Linked DNA regions of Homo sapiens: region 2 is linked to region 1. The links are contacts of gene promoters, found by promoter capture Hi-C in blood cells and fetal thymus (Javierre and others, 2016). All regions are on one chromosome and are shown on one strand. Each heading gives the region's core, a stretch centred on a gene start or on the middle of the fragment in contact. The rest is flanking DNA. Distances are from core to core; before and after follow the strand shown.

Region 1 (6,230 bases), core at 1,465-3,964:
CAGACAAGTCCTCAGTTCCCCAACAGGCTAACTAGAAAGTGAACCTACATAGAGATCCTGTCCCCATTCCTTTCTGTCCTGAAAACATAAAGGGGCTCGTGGGTCCCATTAGGCTCTAGAGCTACCAGGTCAGAGCAGATCAAAGCTTTTGGTGTTAAGCAGCAGCTCTGGGTGACCAGCTCTGTGTCCCATGATCCCAGGGTGGTGTGAGAGGCACAGCTGGAGTCTACTGATCAGGATGGCCAGTGTTCTGTGTTGGGGAATCTGGTGCCTCAAGAGTGTAGGGAGTCCCAGATGCACTTGTTCCAGTACCTCCCTCGGCAGCCATTCAAGCGGGGAAGTCGCTGGAGGAGCCCAGTCTCCCGCCCCCAGAGGGGGCCCCACGCCTGGTGCCGGAAACACAAAGGGAGCCCTGGGGGAAGAATGGTGAGGTCCGGTGGCTCTGGCCTGAGGAATCCGGCCCCAGGAGGAGAGACAGTAGGGCACACTTAGCGTCAAAAAAACTTCCCTGAGGGAATGGAAAGCAGGTCTCAGGCATACCATCTCAAAATAAGGGCCCTTAAAAACACTCTACCCAAACCTGGCATGGTTCTATAAGGTCAAATGACCCCCACAAATCCCACACCCCCAGATCTTGGCAGGAGCCTTTTCAGGACTAAGATAACGTGTGGCAGGGGAGGAAGAGGGGGCCTTTCCTCACCTGGAGAAGCCTTTCCCACAGCTCTGGCAGATGTAAGGCTTGCCCACGGACCCATCATGGGACCGCACATGGTAGGACATGCGGTCTTTTCTCTTGAACCGCAACCCACACACAGGGCAGGAGTAGGGCTTCTCCCCAGAGTGGGACAGCTTGTGCCGGTTAAGATGATACACATCACGGAAGATCTTGCCGCAGATCTCACAAGCCACCTGCTTCCTGGTCCGGCTCCTCTTTCGGGGGCCGTCGGGGTCTTCAGAGATGGGTAGCCCATTCTCACCCAGCCTCGGAGGAGGAAGGTCGATGTAGCCCAGCTGGAGGCTGGTGACACCGTGCTGGGCCTCGTGCTGCCGGAGCCGGTTGGCATCAGTGAACACCTTACCACATAGACCGCATGGAAGGATGCCTGCCTCCCTCAGGCCCCCTGGGGACCCAAACATTGAGTCCAGCAGGTTGGCCTTCCTTGGGCGGCCCCGGCCTCGCTTGCCAGTCAGGGGAGGGGCACTGGATGCCACACTGGGGAATGGGGAAGTCAGCAGTTGGGGGGATAGGGGTCCAGCCACCATGGGCAAGCGGTCCACCCCAGGTAACACAGGCAAAGAGGCTTGGCCTGCAATGGCTGCACCAGCCGCCCGAGCTGCCTCCTCCTCTGGCTGCATGCTGCCGGCGATGCCATTGCTGTTGGCTGCCAAGGCTGCCCCGTTGGTCATGTCCAAAGGGAAGCCCAAGTCCGAGGTCCCAGGGGGGCGAAAGAGCATTATATCGGCGCGGGCAGGGGGTACCAGGATCTGTACGTTGGACTGTTTGATGACTTCCTGGCAGATCTCGATAACCGACCTCATCAGCAGGAACTTGGCGGCCGTCATGAGTTCGGGAAAGCTCTCCAAGCGCACCACGATGCGGGAAGTGTAGGCGAAGTCCAGAATGTCCCCAAATACCTTGGAGCTGATAGTGTGCATCTCCAGCTCCCGGCTGCCCCCGGCCCCGCCGCCTGGTGCTGCCGTCGCGCCCCCTACATCAGCCGGACCCCCGTCCGCAGCTCCGCCGTCGCCCAACTGGGCGCTGAACACCGACTCAAAGTACTCGCTGCAGGCGGCCAGCACGGCGCGGTGCGCTGGGAAGCTCTCGTCGCCTACCCGCAAGAGCACGTCGCAGAAGCGCCCGCCGTTTTTGCGCTGCTGGTTCAGGTTGTGCAGCATCTCCGTGCTGTGTCTGCTCACCTGGTATGTGTAGCAGCCAGACGGGCCGCACGAAGCGTCGTTCACCCGCTCCATGGCCGCCGCCCCCTCCCACTAGCCCGGCCGCTGCACCTGCCCGCCCCCTCCCTTCCCCTCAGCAGCGAGAAGCGGGGCGCAGCAGACGTGTCCACACTCCCCACACGTGCCGGCCCGAGGCTCTGTAGTCTCGCAGGTGCGCCGAGTGTACACGCCCCCAGCCCGGATCAGACTGTCTAGACTGCGGGGTGCACCACCCCCCACATAGCCAACCCCCGCCCTCGCTGGACTGCGCGCCACTCTCTCCTCTCCGCCCGCCCGCCTCCCCTTCCCGGTCTACCTTCCGGGGGGGTGCGCGAGCGAAGAGGTGCGCCCCTCCTGCAAACGCGCCTGCCACCTCCCCTCCCGCCCGCCAGGCGGCGCCGGCGCGCAGCCAAGAAGGGCACGCGCACGCGGGGAGGAGAAGGAGGGGTCCGCCGCGCAGGCGCGCGCGCGCGCCGCGGCTTTTCCCGGGCCCGCTGGGGGCGCGCGCTGCGTCCCCTGCAAAGCGCGAGCCGGGGCGGGGGCGCCGGAGCGGAGGAAACAAAAGGCGAAGGCGAAGGCGGCGGCGGCGGGGCGCGCACGGGGGCGGTGGCGCGGGCCGGGTCCCGGAGCCTGGAGGGCGGTGGCGGCGGCGGCGGCGGCTGGAGCGGGCGGGCGGCGGCGGCGGCAGAGTAGGCCCTTCCTCAGGCCGGGAGAAGGCGGCGGCGGAGCGGCGGCTGTGCGGCCCCGGGCTCCGTGTGTTCGGAGCGGAGGAAAGATGGCAGCGGCTGCACTTCCTCTTGCACTTTCACCCCTGGGGGGAGGAGAAGGAGGGGGCGATACCAACAACACCCCCCCTCTCGCTTGCAGAAAAAAAAGAAACGGCGAGCTCAGAGTGGGGGCCCCGGCGTCCCCGGCCTTGCACGTGCGCGCCCGGATGCCTAGCCCGGGCCGCCTGGCGCTGCAAACTTTACACTTTCTTTGTGCCGAGCGCCCCCCCCTCACCAAGACGAGGATGCACGTCCCCCCTTCCCTATTTATACACCCCCCCCCCGCAGTCCGCTCCCCCCGCTTCCTGCCCCCCCTCCCCATTCCCCAGATCCGCCAATGCTAGAGCAGCCTGAGCCCCCGTCCGGCCCCCGCCTCCCCACCCCGCCCGCGGGGCCGGGGGCTGCAGTCTCAGCCCCCCCGGACCAATGCAAACGAAGCGCCGAGCCAGCAAACCAGCTCCCACTGCCCCTCCCCTGCCCGCTGAGAGTGGCGGCTAGCAGGGTGGGGGGGCAGGAACTGAGGGGTGCGGATCCGGGCCCCCCAGCCTGCGAAGCGCACTCGCAGGTCGAGCGGGCGTCGTCCACCCTTCGGAGCCCCGCTTTCATGCGTGAAATTCCCAGAAGTCGCCTGCGACCGCCTCCCTGCTTCAAACACCAGAGAGGGCCCGGGGTCCTGGCCGGAGACAGGCCGAACCTCCGGAGCTGCTTCTGCACCCGGTACATTGATCGATCTGATGGGCTGCGCGCCCGGAAGAGCTGGAGAGATGAAGCCAGCGTCCAGCTTCTCCCCCAAACCACAGCACGCCGAGCTTTGTCCCCGGGGAGCGTGAAGTCACCAGCTCCGGGAGGCGACAATATGAGGGCGATGGACGGGGCAGGGACCCCCGGAAGCCCCAGCAATCCTCAGGGAAGTGGGGGTGCCGGAGGAGTCGGGGACACCCTCAGGCCTCTCCAAGCCCGGAGCATCCCCAGCGCCCGCAGCCCTGTGAGACGCCGGGTGCTCTGGTAATGGGCCCTGCCGCCAGGCCTCGGCGCTTTGTCCCCGGCCCGCCCGGGGATGCTACCACGCTAGAGTTGTACACCAAGGTTTGTCTTCCCAGGAAGCGCTGGCGGCTGCCTTTGGGCCGCCTGGCGCGGAGCCCCAGGCTGCAGGCGCCGCGTGTGCGGGCGGGAAGTTCCCACAGTTGCAAAGAGGCAGCGAAGTATGTGTTCCAAACTTTCCACGGTTCCAAACTGAGCGCTTCCATTAAGAGAAGCGGTGTGCGGGGGAAAAGCATTCTGGGTATTAGCATGCAAATGAACGGGCCCGGCTTCCAACTCCGCTCGGGATTCCCACCGCTGCGCGCCGAGCTCGCGCCCAGCCACGCGCGCCCTGAGGCTTCCGGGCGTTGCCCTGGCGGATGATCCGAGTTCAAAATCGAGACCTCTGCCTTCTGGTTTCGTGTCCTGGTGCTTAGTCACTTGGCCTCCCTGAGATTCAGTTAAACTGTTTCTTAACCTGTGCACAGGGACAGCAGCACCTGTCCTGCACACCTCCGCTCTAGGGCATAGTACATGCCAAACTCCTGTTGGAGAGAATGAATTAGAGGCATGAAGAAAGTTCCCTGGACACGAAGCCAGGAGATCTGTGTTCTAAGCCCAGACTCACTGTCACCTTAGGCTAGTGCCTCCCTCTCTGAGCCACAGCTTTCTTGGGCGGATTTTGGGAACTGGCACGTTTTATTTTTGAGAGAGCTGCTGGGAACATCCACAGAGAAAGAGAAAGGGGCCGGGCGCGGTGGCTCACGCCTGTTATCCCAGCACTTTGGGAGGCTGAGGCGGGCGGATCACCTGAGGTCGGGAGTTCGAGACCAGTCTGACCAACACGGAGAAACCCCATCTCTACTAAAAATACAAAACTAGGCCGGGCGCAGTGGCTCATGCCTGTAATCCCAGCACTTTGGGAGGTCGAGGCAGGCGGATCACCTGAGGTCGGGAGTTCTAGACCAGCCTGACCAACATGGAGAAACCCCGTCTCTACTAAAAATACAAAATTAGCCGGGCGTGGTGGCACATGCCTGTAATCTCAGCTACTAGAGAGGCTGAGGCAGGAGAATCGCTTGAACCTGGGAGGCGGAGGTTGCCGTGAGCCGAGATCGTGCCATTGCACTACAGCCTGGGCAACAAGAGCGAAACTCCGTCTCAAAAAAAAAAAAAATACAAAATTAGCCGGGCGTGGTGGCACATGCCTATAATCCGAGCTACTGGGGAGGCTGAGGCAGGAGAATCACTTGAACCCGGGAGGCGGAGTTGCGGTGAGCCGAGATCGCGCCATTGCACTCTAGCCTGGGCAACAAGAGCAAAACTGTTTCAAAAAAAAAAAAAAGAAGAAGAAAGAAAAGAAAAAGAGGTTTGCTCTGAGTGTCCAGTGTATACACACATCGTTTCTCCATAGTAGGTACAGATATTCCTATTCAACCATTGGAACTGGGGAAGGTGAGTGACCTGCCCAAGGCCACACAGATAGTGATGGAGCCAGGATTCAAACTGGTTAACTGCCCCTTTCTCACCAGTGGCTTCTGAAACCTGTCACCCGTCCATGGCTCCACTTGAACCAGGAACTGACTCTCTGTCTGCTATGCTTAGAAAACAAGGTGCCATGACTGGCCCCATTCCAGCGGATTCACCCGGTGAAGGTGGGTTCAGAAGGTGGTGCTCTGAGGAAAACAGGGAACGTGCATCAGCCCTGTTTTGCAGATAGGAAGCCTGAGGTTCAAGGAGCCAGAGTGGTCCAGGATCCCACCTTGGGGAAGTGGCCAGAGACAGTCCAGACGCCGTTCTGATCCCACCTGGGAGCTTTTTTCCAAATGTCGCCTTGGCAGTGTGATTGTGGGGGTGGGAGTAACCTCTCTACTTCATCCATTACTCTCAGTCTTGCCCATCTCTCAGGCTCCTAGGAATCCATTATGTAACTTAAGGCATGCTTGCAGAACATGTCTTTTTTTTTTTTTTTTAGGTAACATTCAACTGACATAAAATTAACAATTTTAAAATGTATCATTCACTAGCACCTAGTACATTCACAATGTTGTGCAACCAGCACGTCTGTCCAGTTGCAAAACATTTTTATCACCCCAAAAGAAAACTCCGTACACGTTAAGAAGTCACTTTCCATTCCCTTCTCCCTTCATCCCCTGGCAACCACCAATCTGCATTCTGTCTCTATGGATTTACCTATTCTGGATATTTTTTTTATTTATTTATTTTTTGAGACGAAGTCTCTGTCACCCAGGCTGGAGTGCAGTGGCGCGATCTTGGCTCACTGCAATCTCTACCTCCTGGGTTCAAGCGGTTCTCTTGCCTCAGTCTTCCAAGTAGCTGGGATTACAGGCGCATGCCACCGTGCCCGGCTAATTGTTGTATTTTTAGTAGAGATGGGGTTTCGCCATGTTGGCCAGACTGGTCTCGAACTCCTGACCTCAGGTGATTTGTCCACCTCAGCCTCCCAAGGTGCTGGGATTACAGACGTAAGCCACCATGCCCAGCCTG
Region 2 (6,230 bases), core at 2,102-4,601, 390 kb before region 1:
ATAATAATAATCCAACTAATAATAATATGCTTTGGGTAAATGAACACCTCTACACTTTGAGAGGCTGGCTCCTTTTTTGCCCTTTTTAGGTTTAAAAATGGTCTTTAAATGTGACTTTGTGGTGACTTCAAACTACATCTGATGTTTGGAAAGATTTCCAAGTCCAGTTATCAATCAGTTTCAGAAGTGGAGATAAGAAAATACTTTCCCCCATGAACTAACAACAAGAACTTTATAGTATTAAGATTATTACTGGCCAAGCGCATCGGCTCAGCCTGTAAGCCCAGCACTTTGGGGGGCCAAGGCAGTCAGATTACTTGAGCTCAGGAGTTTGAGACCAGCCTGGGCAACATGGTGAAAAAATATATATACAAAAATTAACCAGGTATGGTGGTGTGTGCCTGTAGTCTCAGCTGCTCGGGAGGCTGAGGTAGGAGGATCACTTGAGCCCGAGAGGTGGAGGTTGCAGTGAGCCTAGATAGCACACTGCATTCCAGCCTGGGTGAAAAAAAAAGATTCCACGGACTGATTTCTCCTGTTGAATGTGTTAACAAGGCCCTGTGGTAGAAAAGTGTAGGGTTAAAGATCCCTTAGCCAAGAATCCCAATCTCCTGGTACTTGAAGTAAATCAAGTCTTTTTCCAAAATGCTATGGTGCTTAGTGCTTCTATCACACCATTTAATCCTTAACTGTCTTGACTGTTCCCTCAAGATCTAGTTATTGTTCTCTAATTATCCATAGTGCATTAATTGTCTCTCCAATTAAAGACTAAGTTCTTAAAGCAAAGACCCCCATCTCCTCCTCTCTGGACATTTCCCAAAGCATAACAGGAGTTGTACTGAGCACAGAATAAAGACACACTGGGTCCTTTTTCATTTAAATTGAAATCCAACTTCATTCTGAGTGTCAGGAACTAAACTTCCTTGCTGAAATTTACCCACCAAATGTAGTAGGAGACAGCAGAGATGATCTTTTTTAAAAAACGTCTTCCAAGTAGACTTGACCATTACGATTTGTACCTTCAACATCACTTGGAGAAGAGGCCCATTCTCTGCTTTAGCATCTGTGCATTGATTAAATAAGCCCTATTTTTCCAGCGGTAGCTGTTACCATTCCTGAGAAAGCACACTCAGATGTAAGATACATGCTTTGGCTTGGAAAGGCACCTCCATCTGGCCTGAGCATTTTTTTTTTTTTTTTTTTTTTTGAGACGGAGCTTCGCTCTTGTTGCCCAGGCTGGAGTGCAATGGTGCGATCTTGGCTCATGGCAACTTCCACCTCCTGGGTTTAAGCGATTCTCCTGCTTCAGCCTCCCGAGTAGCTGGGATTAGAGGCATGCACCACCACACCCGGCTAATTTTGTATTTTTAGTAGAGACAGGGTTTCTCCATGTTGGTCAGGCTGGTCTCAAACACCCGACCTAAGGTGGTCCGCCTGCCTCGGCTTCCCAAAGTGTTGGGATTACAGGTGTGAGCCACCACGCCCAGCCTTGGCCTGAGCATTTAGTAATCATCTTCTAACATTCTTTTCCTGTGTGCCCCTATTTCCTGTTACTTTCTTCTAGAGAGAAAAGAAGCCTTATTTTTACCACTTTGGCAGAGCCTTTTGAACAAAAGGCTTTCAGAATTGAAGCAGTACAGCTGACTTTTAGCTGCTCTGAGGATTTTCTTTGCTCCAAAGTATAGCAGACATGAGAAATTCATCAAATCTGGGGCAGATTCTTCATAATTATATGACATTAGTGGTTCTGAGAATTACTACTTAGTTGTGTGCTTGTTCCCATTCATCAAAAGGGTCCATGAAGAGGGGTTATTTCATTCCCATGTAAACATACAGACTTCTCAGAACCTAGTTCATGCTACTCAAAATATCACCTCACACATTTCAGAGGATTTCAGAAAAGTCTGTCAGAAAAAAACACATCACACTAGTCGAATTGTATTTAAAAGCTGTCTTCCGGCCAGGTGTGGTGGCTCACGCCTGTAATCCCAGCACTTTGGGAGGCCGAGGCAGGCAGATCACCTGAGGTCATGAGTTTGAGACCAGCCTGGCCGACGTGGTGAAACCCCGTCGCTACTAAAAATACAAAAAATTAGCCGGGTGTGGTGGTGGGCGCCTGTAATCCCAGCTACTTGGGAGTCTGAGGCAGAATTGCTTGAACCTGGGAGATGGAGGTTGCAGTGAGGCAAGATCGTGCCACTGCACTCCAGCCTGGGTGACAAGGTAAGACTCCATCTCAAAAAAAAAAAAAAAAAAAAGCTGTCTTCCTCCATTCTGCTTTCAAATTTTTAGTATTCAAATGACTAAAAAAGGTGCTAGTACAAATACCAGGCAGAAAGCAAACTATTAAAATTAATGAGTTAATTAATTAAAAGGCCAATGACTGTTGCACTCACTCTAGGAAAAGGAGAAGATCTTACTACAAAACAGCAGAGCCAAATAAGCAAAACGAAATAGGATGTTGACAGGTGTAAATTCCAAGCCAAGCAGCCTTCCTTCCTGACACCTCTGAGAACAACTCAGCAAACCTCAGAGCCAATCCAGTTACTGCTATTTTCCGCAACCGATACCAGCAATTCTCCAAGTTGAGACTAGTGCTCACCAAGAGTTCAAAACAAAGTGGCCTCCAACAAGATCTCTCCTTGGCTGCAGGTACCACAAACCTCGTTCACCTATTAACGCCTACCAGTAAAATAACTTGGTCATTTCACTCTCTACTGTTCCACTCCATCACTTCCATAACTCTACTAGTAGCTATTTACATAGATTTGGATACCTTGTGTTAGTTTCTTGAAACCAATATTCTTGGTTTCTATGCCTGACCAGAGCTGACCATACCTGACTACGGCTGCCCCTTTTCTACCTATGACCTGGAATAATCATGCCATCTTCCCAGGCTCCCGAATCCAGTTATTTCCCACTCAATTCTTCTTAGGCACAGTAATAAATGCATTAAGATGAACTAGACATTAGAAGGACTAAAGCCTGACTTACCTGCATAAATATCTATTCTGGTGGCATCAGCATCTCTGCAAAGTGAAAAGAAAAGAATCATGTGAATTAATATGAAATATCAACCATCAAAATGCATAGTGATTTGAGTAGAATGCAGAGTATTTTGAGTCTGTTTTCAGGAAGCCATACAGAAATTCTATAGACATTTAGAATTTTTTTTACTTTTATACTTGACAACACAATTTTCTTTATATATCTGTAAAACATTTCTGAAGCCCCAAATTATTGAAGATGATCACATGACATGGGGCCTGGATATTTTTTTTAAATCCTGATTTTGTGGTAAAAACATCTATAGGATAAGCAAGAATATTTCCCTTTATACCCTAAGAAATGATTCAAATATGTTTTTCTCACTCATTTGATTGCAATCATAAAAAGATGTTCCAATAACTTGTCCACTTTTTCTTCTCGTCAATATTTTAAGAAAAAAGGAAGACAATAATCTCCCACAAAACCTGTGAAAAATCACTTCTCGTGGTATACACACTGCAGTCAGCAGACTGATTCCTGAGCCCATAATCTTAACCTCCCTAAACCTGAAAGGAAGTTGGGATACCCCTGCCCCATTAGACTCCAACCATTGGCTGAAATCATACAGATTCAGTTATCAATGAAGACTTCCATAAAGGCTCAGAAGTAATTTAGTCCAATTCTGCCAACTGCAAAGAAAATGAAACCGTTTCACTGGTTTTACATGCAAAAAATCCACACAGCTCTACATATACCTATTCTCAAATATCTAAAACATTTTCAAATATGAGAGATACTGGCAAAATGTATACACAAGTAGGAATACATACTCCTAAGAATCTCTATTTTACCATATGATACACAAAAAAAGCAGCCTGCCACCGCACATCATGGTCTCACTAAATTAACAAGTGGCAAATTCAAACACAGTTCCATTAACCTACAACACTTTTTAATTGAATGGAAAAATGATGAGTCAACCAGGATTGAAACAAAACAGGAGTTTTCTGGTTAAACAACTAGCACACTTCCATGAGCAGTCCAGCTAATAACAACAACAAAAGTAATTAGAATAAGTTTATTGTATACACAGAGGTAAAGAGGAAATTATCAGCGAGCACATTAACTGGAGATCTGTTTGAAAGTACTTCCGCTGTCAATTTTCATCCTCCTCTTCCTTCCTTAGTCATCAAAACCTAGTCAGTAAATGTGTCTGAATTTTATGTTTGCATTCAGGAATAAGACTAAGACACTATTTTCCTAATTATAAACAGAATCTTGATATGGACTTGGATTTACATCAGAACTAACCCAAACTTCTATTCAGTCTTACACAGTAACATTTACATGTTTCTATCACTAAGAACTCAGTATAAGACAGTGCTGACCAATGATTCCTTCCAAGCACAGCTGCTAACAATGAAAGACACTGTGATCATTTAGTTATCTGACAAATATACAATTTGAGAAGACACAGAACTTTGGCATAGTTTTAAAGACATTAGATGGTGTACTATCCTGCTAGCACAAATTAAATCAGAGCCTGCCTGTCTCATTAATATGATTCCTAAGTGTCTATCTTAATTCCTTGCATTTTACTACAATTATCTTGCTCTAATACACAAGGGAAGTGGTTTTGGAGGTGATAACTCACTATTTTTAGGCTAGAACACAAAGAACAATTAGTGAATTTAAGTAAGAAAGTGGAAGTTATCAACTAATGTGCTATTAAAAATATTATTTTTAGTAAGAGGCATCCTAGGAGTTACAGAATGTCTACATTCTACAGAAATGTCTTCCTCTCAAGTCTTCAGAGAGCAAAGGTCACAGCTACCTAAAGTGTTTCCACTTCAAGCACAGATTGTATGCCTGAAGACTACATACCTTGCATTATCAACCAGTTCAGCAAGGGCACCAAACAAGAATTCGTGAGTGGTTCTGAAATGATAAATACTAAAAGTCAGCAAAAGAATTATTGAAGTTATAATTCCTAATAAAAAGCCATGGTTATAAAATATTTAAGTTTTTTGAAAAAAATCTTAAAACCACCATTTGCATTGTTTTTATACTACTCAAGGCTTTCCAGAGCTCCCCAACTCCCCTCAATTGTTAATCTTTAACAAGTCCTGCCATCTATTCAGAAATGATTATTCTTCCTATTTTGAGTTGGGAAACCCACCCTGAAGCATTGAAAGAGTCCTATGTGTAGTAACTGCTAAAAGTGTTTTTCACTATTCATATCCTGCCTAGAAAAATGCCTGTATATTTTATTTTTCATTGCCTTAACCAGTGGTCAGTTTCTGCATATCTCAGAGCAAGAATTTTAAGGATATATCTTATGCATAAATATTGAACTTTGTTTTTTGTTTTTTCTTTGAGACAGGTTCTCATTCTTGTCACTCGGACTGGAGTATAGTAAGTTTTGAATAACATGATAACTGTGTATTTACTCAATCCAAACTTTGAGCAGCCTCCCAGAGGAGATGACCACTGGTTCCCCTCCTTGAAGGGGTTAATGTTAACAGGGGCCCTAGGCAACCACACCAAGCAAGCTCTTGTCATCCTAGAAGGAATTGTTGGAAAAGGTCTTCGATTACTTTCTTTAATGGAGGGAAAGTTCTGGTTTTAGCCAAAATCTGAGAAAGTCATAAAATGAGTTATTCTCTTTACCTTCTCTTTCAAATGGGATATTTTTGCTTATAAATTACACAAAAGTGTATGAGTTTCCTTTCTTCACTGGTAGATGACGCACAAGTATTGGTAAAACAAAATGCTAACAAGTTATACATTGAGCATGTGCAATTTACACTGTTTAATTTGTGCTCTTTTCCACAATAGTCCTCATGAGATATCAAATTAGGATGTGTCCACATAGAACCACCTAAAAAAAAAACACTTGACTTCTGATTAAATACAATATTAACCCACATAATACATGACCATCAATTTTTCAAAAATATCCATGTTACTCTGACTTTTTTGCATAGAGTTTCAGCCAAAGTAAAAAGTTTCAGCCAATTTTCAGTTAAAGTAAGAATTTTTAAATGAAATATATCAATAGTAAATAACCAGCATCTAGGATCTCTGATCGCTTACCATATTGCAAACAAAATGTAAAACATTTATTAAATAAATATCCATAACTAAACTCTCCAGGAATATTGTTTTTTCTTCCTCAAGTAACTCCAAATTTTTACAAATGCAATTTTTTTGTTTTGTTTTGTTTTTGAGACAGAGTTTCG

The links. The method cuts DNA at HindIII sites, captures the fragments that hold promoters and counts their contacts. A CHiCAGO score of 5 or more calls a contact.
Region 2: a fragment that was not itself captured here is called in contact with the fragment with the promoter of PATZ1 in region 1 in 1 of 17 cell types (neutrophils); the score reaches 5.9 in neutrophils.

What each region holds. Positions count from the first base shown.
Region 1 is chr22:31,343,632-31,349,861 of GRCh38, forward strand. PATZ1 (POZ/BTB and AT hook containing zinc finger 1) reads right to left here and starts at 2,715. Exons shown (of 5, transcript NM_014323.3): 1 at 701-2,715. The coding sequence starts at 1,971. LINC01521 (long intergenic non-protein coding RNA 1521) reads left to right here and starts at 3,128. Exons shown (of 1, transcript NR_120386.1): 1 at 3,128-6,230. RefSeq lists enhancers at 1-112, 113-650 and silencers at 1,471-1,540, 2,091-2,510, 2,881-2,950, 3,001-3,220. The HindIII fragment of the contact is 6,732 bases long and covers 144-6,230 here.
Region 2 is chr22:30,953,769-30,959,998 of GRCh38, forward strand. MORC2 (MORC family CW-type zinc finger 2) reads right to left here. Exons shown (of 26, transcript NM_001303256.3): 2 at 4,873-4,926; 3 at 2,995-3,029. Among named protein-coding and RNA genes, the nearest start is that of MORC2, 12 kb to the right of the region's middle. The HindIII fragment of the contact is 8,448 bases long and covers 1-6,230 here.